2 separate regions of the Homo sapiens genome follow, and region 1 is linked to region 2. The links are contacts of gene promoters, found by promoter capture Hi-C in human tissues and cell types (Jung and others, 2019). All regions are on one chromosome and are shown on one strand. Each heading gives the region's core, a stretch centred on a gene start or on the middle of the fragment in contact. The rest is flanking DNA. Distances are from core to core; before and after follow the strand shown. Region 1 holds the start of LOC124909448 (a long non-coding RNA gene). Region 2 holds the start of CLRN1 (clarin 1).

Region 1 (4,328 bases), core at 107-2,606, 110 kb after region 2:
TTGTGGGCCAATTACCAGAAAAGAGAGCAAAATGCCTCCCTCATCCTGCCCTAGCAGGCCCTGTGGCCTTCAGTTCCTCCCCGCCTCCTTCAGGTTGCTTCTATTTCTGACCCCAGAGAGATTTAAAGGGAATCCAGATAAATTGCCAGGTTTCATTATTCAGCTTTAAACCTGCACATGGATTCTCTAGAGAGCTGAAAGGGATGACATTTCTCCTTTTTTTCCTAACCAAGGATGTGGAAAGATGATGGTTCCACTGGTGCAACCTGGTAATCCCTCTGCGAAGATAACAAGGTTTCTGACCTCAAAGAGACTTGGAGACCAAATCTTCCATGGATCTCACTTCTGTTCATGCTGGTCTAGGTTCAAAGTGTAGCCTCTACCCCTATGCCCACATAGTCAACTGATCCACTTCCACGCTATCGTCCTCATGAAGCTTTGCACGTCTTTCTGCCCCAGGCTTCCATCCCTTATCTCCTTTTCATTCTCTTCCACTCTGGCCTCTTGAATCCTTTCCCCATAGCTAGCAAATTGCCATACCTATACAGTTTCTTTTCTAACACTCTCACCTCCTTCCTCCTACCTTGGGAAAGCTGGCCTCTTCCCTTGGAGCACTGCTTTTCCTGCACCCCTCTTACCTTTGTATTTCAGTTCAACCAGGTGGGTTAATATCTATGGGGAATATATTACATTATGAATAATAGAAAAGTCACTAACACTGGTTTCATTAAGTAGGGCTCATTCTTCACATAACCAGATACCTGGTTGTAGATGGCTGTTGGTATTGGTTCAGTGGCCACTTGAAATCAGGGCTCATCTCTGGGGTTGTCTTGCCTTTTCCTCATACCATATTTCTAACTTCTTGGTCACAATATGGCCATTGTAGTCTAGACTTCATGACTAAATTCCAGGCGAGAAGAGAAAAGGAGCTAAAGGGTGTTGCCTGCATCAGGAAAGAAAAACATTCTCAGAATCCCTAGAGAAGTTAAGCTTATGTCTCATTGGCTAGAAGTGTGCCACATGGCCATCCCTAGATGTAAGGTAATCTAGGAAGGTAGGTGTATTTAGCTGGCATATTGTACCCCAGAACAAATTCAAGATTTCGTTACTAAGGAAGAAAAGGGATAAAGATAAAGATATCGGGCAGAGAACAAGCAGTGTCTGCCACAGTGTCTGCTTCACTCCCCCACATTATATTTCACTGTCTTGTTAAAAACCATTCTCCTTTGATCTTATGCCATTCAGCTATTCTGCCCTACCTCCCCCCATCCACTGTTGGTGCTGTCATCTAATGGGGGGTCCTCGCGTTCATTATGTACCTTGGCAATGGGCAAAAAGCCAACCATTCTGCAGGGCAAGCCAATTGCCTGCCTCCTACACACAAGCCTTGATCCGTCTTGATGACAACTTGGTTCTCAGCTCTTCTTCCTCTCTGCTCTCATCCTTACTCAGCCAGTCTCTACTCTCATCTTCTGTTTCAGTCTAGCTGTCACAGCCTCTATAGCCTCCATTTACTACTGCTCAGAAAGGACTCCCTTTGTCTCTTCGTACTCAAGATGCCCCAACTTGAACTTAATGTCTATTTTGCTCATCACCACACTCCCAGCTGGCCCCTGCTTCCTGTTAGCAAAACTGGACCAGGTGGCTGAGGTTCCAGGGGTCAGGAGACCCTAACTTCTCCAGGCTCCTTTGCTGATCTGACACATTTCTCCATCTTGGTTTGCAACATCCTCTCCGAGACAATTTTTATATTCACTCTGCAGTTCCGCATACCACAACTGTAGCCAAGAGGTGTTTTCCTTTCTCTCCTATTTGTTAACAGCCCTGGGAAGAGGCATAGTGGTGAGAATGTTGGGCAATGTTTTAACAATACTAATAAAAAATACTATTATATAAAGGATCCATGTAATTGATTTGTGCACTATTCCCCAAATGCTACTGAGAGCAAAGTGTTGGCAGCGTTTATTTTTTACTGCTTAGAATTTAAACTTTAGATTTAGCAAACAGTAGGTACCAAACAGTCTTAGATATATCCAGTAGAGAGGGGAAAAAAGAATTTATTCTTATATAAAATTTGACCCTGTTACATTTAGTTCATCATTTTAATCCATCAAGATATTTTGTTTACTATACAGATTCTGCCATCTAATATATTTTCCACGCTTTCTTGCTCTGTGTGACTGCAGCAGATAGATAAGAAAGTATAAGAGGATGTCCCTAGAACTTGGAGAAAAATATTTCTCTGAGAACCGAAATATCTCATAATGAATAGTTATCAGATTATAATTTTCATCAGATGTAACCCATCCTAACAGGTTAGTTACAATCTGAAACTAACTGATGATAAAGACTGGATCCTTAACTGGTTAACAATAAAAAAGTAGTAACATAATCAATTATTGTATAACTGAAAAGTAATCTCTCTCTCTCTCCTTTCCCAACAGGAAAGTCTGAAGCCAGGCCTGCTTAGCAGAGGTCTCCGTATAGTAGGGATCTCACTCTTTCAAGATGTAGGATCTCAACTGGTTAGCCAGCCCTCTGAGTGAAGCTGGTCAGTTGGGGCTGTGACAACATAGCACACTCAAAGGGGCAGACCCTTCTCAGCTCCAACAGATTGGTGTCATTGGAAAAGGTGGACCCAGTGTAGGCAGACTTTCCTAGAGAGTCCAGAAGTGACTGTGCAAGCCCAAAGCAATCCAAACAAATATTTGTGGACCACCAAGAACCTCTGGTATGAAGTAAATAATAAAGGCATTGAACAATAATAACCTGTCTGTATATCCACCAATGGGACCGATGGGCCACAGTGTGACATCTATCCTATTCATGTCATAAGGGAGATGAATTCTACTGTGGGACAGTCTGTGTGACTGCTCGTAGGAGATTATCCAATTCCTTTTGCTCTAATTTCATGGTCACCAAATTTCTGCTTGCTAACTTTGTTTTACAACAAACTTTAGAAAGGAGGTGATCTGAATAAGAGGATATATGTTTTTCAGTCTCTGGAAAGGGGTATTTCTTTGTATTGAGAAGCCAGAACTCTTGAGTGTGTTGAGCCTTGTAGAGATTGAACCACTCTGGGTCAGCTGACAAAATAAGATTCTGGTGCTGAAAAGCTGAGTATGTGACCATGATATTAACAGTGACCTAAGTTTGTGTGGCCCCCTTCGTTCTCCAGAAACCAACCAGTCAGCCTTCATTTTGTAAATGTAGCAGACACCATTTTGCTAGTGAATGAGGTTAAATCTTTAGCCTTGTCATTGGTTCGGCTTTGTAATTTAAAACTCTCTTATTTTACCCTCTGATTTTAAATCCCCAGATTTTCCTTTCTGTGTCCTTTGCCCCCTGAAGTTTCCATCTGTCTAGCAACTAAGCACTGTTTGGGTATCTACTGTCTTCCCCAAGTTGCCTTTACTTTTCTTCTTTACCTTTCTCTTGTTTTATTTATTTCTTTCTTTTTTTGAAATGGAGTCTTGCTCTGTCACCCAGGCGGGAATGCAGTGGCGCAATCTCGGCTCATTGCAACCTCCACCTCCCGGGTTCAAGCAGTTCTCCTGCCTCAGCCTAATGAGTAGCTGGAATTACAGGTGTGCACCCCCATACCTGACTAAGTTTTGTATTTTCAGTAGAGACGGGGTTTCACCATGTTGGCCGGGCTGGACTTGAACTCCTAACCTCAGGTGATCCGCCCTCCTTGGCCTCCCAAAGTGCTGGGATTACAGGCATGAGCCACCACACACAGCCTCTCTTGTTTTACTTCTGTCATTACTTTTTGTTCTTTTAATTTGGAAACCCACCTGCTTCCTCAGTGTCATTATTAAAAACCCACATGTTACAGGTTCATTAGGACTGAAACATTCCTTCAGAGCTGAGCTGACCAACATGTTAGCCACTAGCCACATGTGACTATTGCATACATGAAATGCAAAATGTGGCTGGTCTGAAATGATGGTATAGGTATGAAATTCACACAAGATTTAGAATACTGAAGATAAAAAAGAATGTAAAGTATCTCATTAATACTTTTTTTGGTATTGATCACCTATTGAAATGGTAATATTTGGTTATACTGGCTTAAGCAAATGTACATTAAAATTAATTTCATCTATTTCTTTTTACTTCTTTAATACCAGAAAATGTAAAAGTACCTATCTGGCAAGCAATATAAAACTATTGGTCAGTGCTACTTGAGAGTCTTAATGTCTGTATTTTTTATATCTCTGTAAGCATAAATGCTGTATTAAAAACCCAATTTGAATAAACACCCCCAAATTACTCTTCCATTTCTCTTTTCTCTCTTCTGACCCACCTTCCCAAGTCATTATCAT
Region 2 (4,066 bases), core at 1,095-3,594:
TAGAAAGTTTTAACACTGAGAGGGGTGTTTATTTAAATGAATATTATCCTCTTTGGGGAGTCCATTGGATCTATTTATTTTGGTTTTCCCAACTCTGTCTCATGCTGCATTGAAAAAGATACTTTTATGCTTAGGAAAAAAAAAAAAGCTCTACTGTAAGTATTCTTAGCTGGGCCTCACCAAAATGAATGAGATTTTTAACATGTATAGTATATACAGTACACTTAATATGTATAGTCTATTGTATATTGATGGAGCTGTCACTGCAGAATGAACAAGTAAATGGAAGATTTTCTTCACTAGGCTAGGGGGAGAATGTCAGGGGTATCTGGGAGCTAATGAAATTCTGTGAGATAAGTGAGGGTACTGTTTAAACCCCACCAGTTCTGCAAGTCCTCACAGAAAGCAAAAGGAGGGGCACCCAATTAGAACAACTTCATCCTTAGACAGGACAAGCATAGGACACAACCACAAAAATCATTCGCTAAACCCCAGAAGAATGTGGCTGTGTAAGGATTAAATGAGACAAAGCATATAAAGTGCTTAGTATGTAGTAAGTGTTCAGAAAACATCTTATTATTGTTTTGAAACATGTCCTATGGCATGAGTAAAGTTTATCTCCATTTCACTGTAGAAAATGTAAAGGCTCCAGAAAATTCACCAGTACCTTCTCCGCTTTTGTCTAAATTCATCTGTGAGAAGCTTTACTCACGCTTTGGCTGCCGGTGACTCACGGTTAAATCATCTCTCTCAACTTTTTTCCTTTTCGGTTTTTTAATACAGTTGCATATCACATGACATTCTGCTTTGTTTTCTTCCTTCCCCTTCCCCAGGAAAACTAAGCAACTCTAACAGCCCCATTACCTTAATGAATAAAAGCCATTCAGTGAAAAGAACTGGTATCCACTTCATCAATTAAAAAGCTAACAACCAATTCTTGGAAATTTTCTGGAGCCCTATGAAAATTCATATCACTTAGTAACCTATGTGAGCTGAAGGTTGGTGTCCAATGACTGCTAAGAAGATATAAGGAATGTTGCAGAAATATAAATAGACCAGCACTGAAATTTAATTAGGCACTGCATATGTTAATAATAAATTCAATTAATTTAGCCTTCTACCTATACTAGAAAGAAAAAAAAAACCTGGGCAAAATAATAATTCATTTTAAATGCTTCAGTTGGTAACCTCCTTTCCTGAAGAGTGATTTATGCAGTAATTTACTGACTGTGTCTTCATAAGGTTGTTCCAAACCAGCCCTTCTGAAATAATAATAACTTCTGAATGTGTGTTGTAAGAGATATAACAAATGACTTCCTATTAATTTTCATTTAATGAGTTGCCTATTCACATGGTAATTTTTAAAAATTCTCTTCTTAAGATAAACAGGTTATAAATACTGTGGATTACACTTCCATTTCACAAAAATCACAACAAGAAAATCTCTCTCATATTCTCTACATGATTTGCAGGTCAATCAGTTTAAAATGTTCTATACTAAATAGGCATCCATTTCTTTCCCAGTTAGCACAGCAGATCATTTTAAATTTCTATAGCCAAATGATTCCAAATTAGTTAAAAATGAAAACTGAATATTTAGCAGCAGGAAAGGTCTTAGCAGGAATAATGGGAGGGAGTGGGGAGCAGGAAACAAAATCATGAGAAAGGTGGCAACCTGGTTAAATACGGAGCCCATGACCTTGGTTCTTTTTATAAAGAACAAAAAGCATAAAGATCATTCTTTACAGCTTTCCTATTTCCCCAAGTTTACTTTTTTAAAAAGACTCCATAATTTTTTACATAAATATTAATACTTAAGCATCTTAATTGCCAATATTTCCAAAAACCTTAATTATGTAACAATGAATTAACTCTATATTATAATAAAAAGCAAGTATAAAATAATAAAAACTAGGAAGAAGAAATTGCTCAGAGTCATAGGTTTTTCATATGGTTCACACCGATTTAAAAAGTCCTGCAGTAAACACGGCAAAATTCTCAAATATAATTCCTCGCAACACTGGGAAGAGTCTGCCTAAAGCATTAAATAACTCAAATGCAATTGCTACTTACATGAGAACCGAAAGGGCCTTGCTCCCAACCCACACTGCCTCACACCCTCTCCGTGGAAAAGCCCGTACTGCATTTCACCCATAAACTTGTCCAGCTCCTGCCCTGAGGCATTGACGAGCAGAGCTCCCGTTTTGCAGAGGACAGTGGCTTTGATCCACAACGGTGTCCCCAAGGCTGTCACAACTCCGAGGGCACATGCAAAACTGAACACTCCGGCCATGCAAAAAATGATTTTCTTCTGTTGGCTTGGCATGATGAGAAACGGCTTCTGTGAGGGCGAGGTTCAAAAACAAGACCTTTGTGAGCAATGGGAAGGGACTGCCTCTTTGACTGCATTTATTACGGAAGCTGAACGGACAGCTCCCAGCTGAAAAGGCAACTTCACCATCGACGGTTCTCGCCAGGTTAAATGTCAGTAGATGAAGGCCTCATCATCACTCATACTTGGCTTTTCTCCTTTTCTGCTGCTTCTTCTCCCTAATTGGAAATCTTTGGACTAAGAATCTGTAAAACAAGTCTTTCAAACTGCCTTCAAGTATCTCCTCTGTGTCACTTGGTAACAAAGGTCGAAGATAACAGATGGAGTCCTCAGTGTAACTTGATAAATGTTTCCCTTCCTCAGCCTTTTGTCTGATTGGGTGAGTTGAAACTTTCAGAAACAGGCTTGAATCTGATGGTACATTTTCAGCAACTTGAGAAGTTCACTTATCGATGTTTTTATTTTTGTTTTTTGTTTGTTATTGTTTTTGGTGGTGGGGGAAGGAGCTTTAGCAGAGGTAGGGAGAACATATGTACCTGTATTGATAGTTGATGTCAAAAATTTTTAATTACAGCAGGATAAAAATATTAAACAGAATTTGGTCCTACACGAATATTAAGTGCTCTGGATCAACCATGGGTCCTTGTCCTTCCAACTTAATTTCTCCCAGATCCATGGTTTATACCTAATGTATCAATAGAGAATTTGATTCAAATTTTTCTTGGCATACAGAAATATGAAAATGCAGGAGCAGATATCTAGATTTCTAAATGCTTTCCTTTAACAGGCTTAGCTGCTTTAGGATAATAGCAAGGGAATGTGTTTCTGGGTCCAAGGAATACCAGGATCTGTAAAGATAAGGGCATATTGATGGAAAGAGGGATGGTGGTCAGATAGGTGACTCTATGGATTCATCATAAAAATGCACAGGTCTCAGCAAAGGTAATCTGTTTGGGAGACTAGAGACAGTTATGAGCAAAGATTAAGCAGCAGGTAGGTCTGGTTAAACGGTCAAGACCTGGAAACTAAAGTTCAGAATTCAGTAACAGCTTTTTAACTTTGCATTTCCAATGAGATTCCTCCTTCTACAGACACAGGACTGTGTGTGTGTGTGTGTGTGTGTGTGTGTGTGTGTGTGTGTGTGTGAAGTGTCTAGTGAATGTTTATTATATGCCATGTTATTGTCCTGAGCTCTGACCTACAAAGTTAATGTTTAGTAAGAACTTATGTCTGGCAACTTGTGAAGTATTCTACCTAAATTATCATATGTAATTCTCATAATTAGCATATAAAGTAATGAAGAAGAGGAAGAAGAAGAGGAGGGAGGAGGAGAAGAAGGAGGAGGAGGAGGAGAAAGGAAGAAGGAAGAAGAATAAGAAAGAAGAAAGAAGAAGAAAAAGCAATTATTCGTATCTTATATATAAGGGAATTGAGGCTCAGAGAGTTTAAGCAACTTGCTGAAGAGAGTAGTGGAGCTGGGATTCAAATCCAGGTCTTCTACTTCTGAGGTTGATGTTCTATTCCAAGCAAAGCCCCTGACCTTGAAAAGATGGCAAACATTTCAGTTTGGGTTGGGTTCGTCTAGGAGTAACAGGGGCAGACTAGCCCATTATTAGTTACACATATTGAGTGTTTGAAGAACACAGACATCAGTAAATAGAACTTTTTCAGTTGGCCAAAAGCACATGTGTATGCTAGCTTCTATTCTTTTGATCCACCTTTAAGCATGACAGC

Evidence for each region. Contacts are between HindIII fragments. The study calls those that stand out against the background at their distance.
Region 1: a contact is called between a fragment that was not itself captured here and the fragment with the promoter of CLRN1 in region 2, in 2 of the 25 tissues and cell types used here (H1 embryonic stem cells and adrenal gland).

The regions. Positions count from the first base shown.
Region 1 is chr3:151,076,445-151,080,772 of GRCh38, forward strand. CLRN1-AS1 (CLRN1 antisense RNA 1) reads left to right here. Exons shown (of 6, transcript NR_024066.2): 6 at 2,445-4,282. LOC124909448 (a long non-coding RNA gene) reads right to left here and starts at 926. Exons shown (of 2, transcript XR_007096133.1): 1 at 762-926. The HindIII fragment of the contact is 5,315 bases long and covers 1-4,014 here.
Region 2 is chr3:150,970,383-150,974,448 of GRCh38, forward strand. It overlaps CLRN1 (clarin 1), which reads right to left and starts at 2,345. Exons shown (of 3, transcript NM_174878.3): 1 at 2,074-2,345. The coding sequence starts at 2,326. It overlaps CLRN1-AS1 (CLRN1 antisense RNA 1), which reads left to right and starts at 2,296. Exons shown (of 6, transcript NR_024066.2): 1 at 2,296-2,711. The HindIII fragment of the contact is 11,205 bases long and covers 1-4,066 here.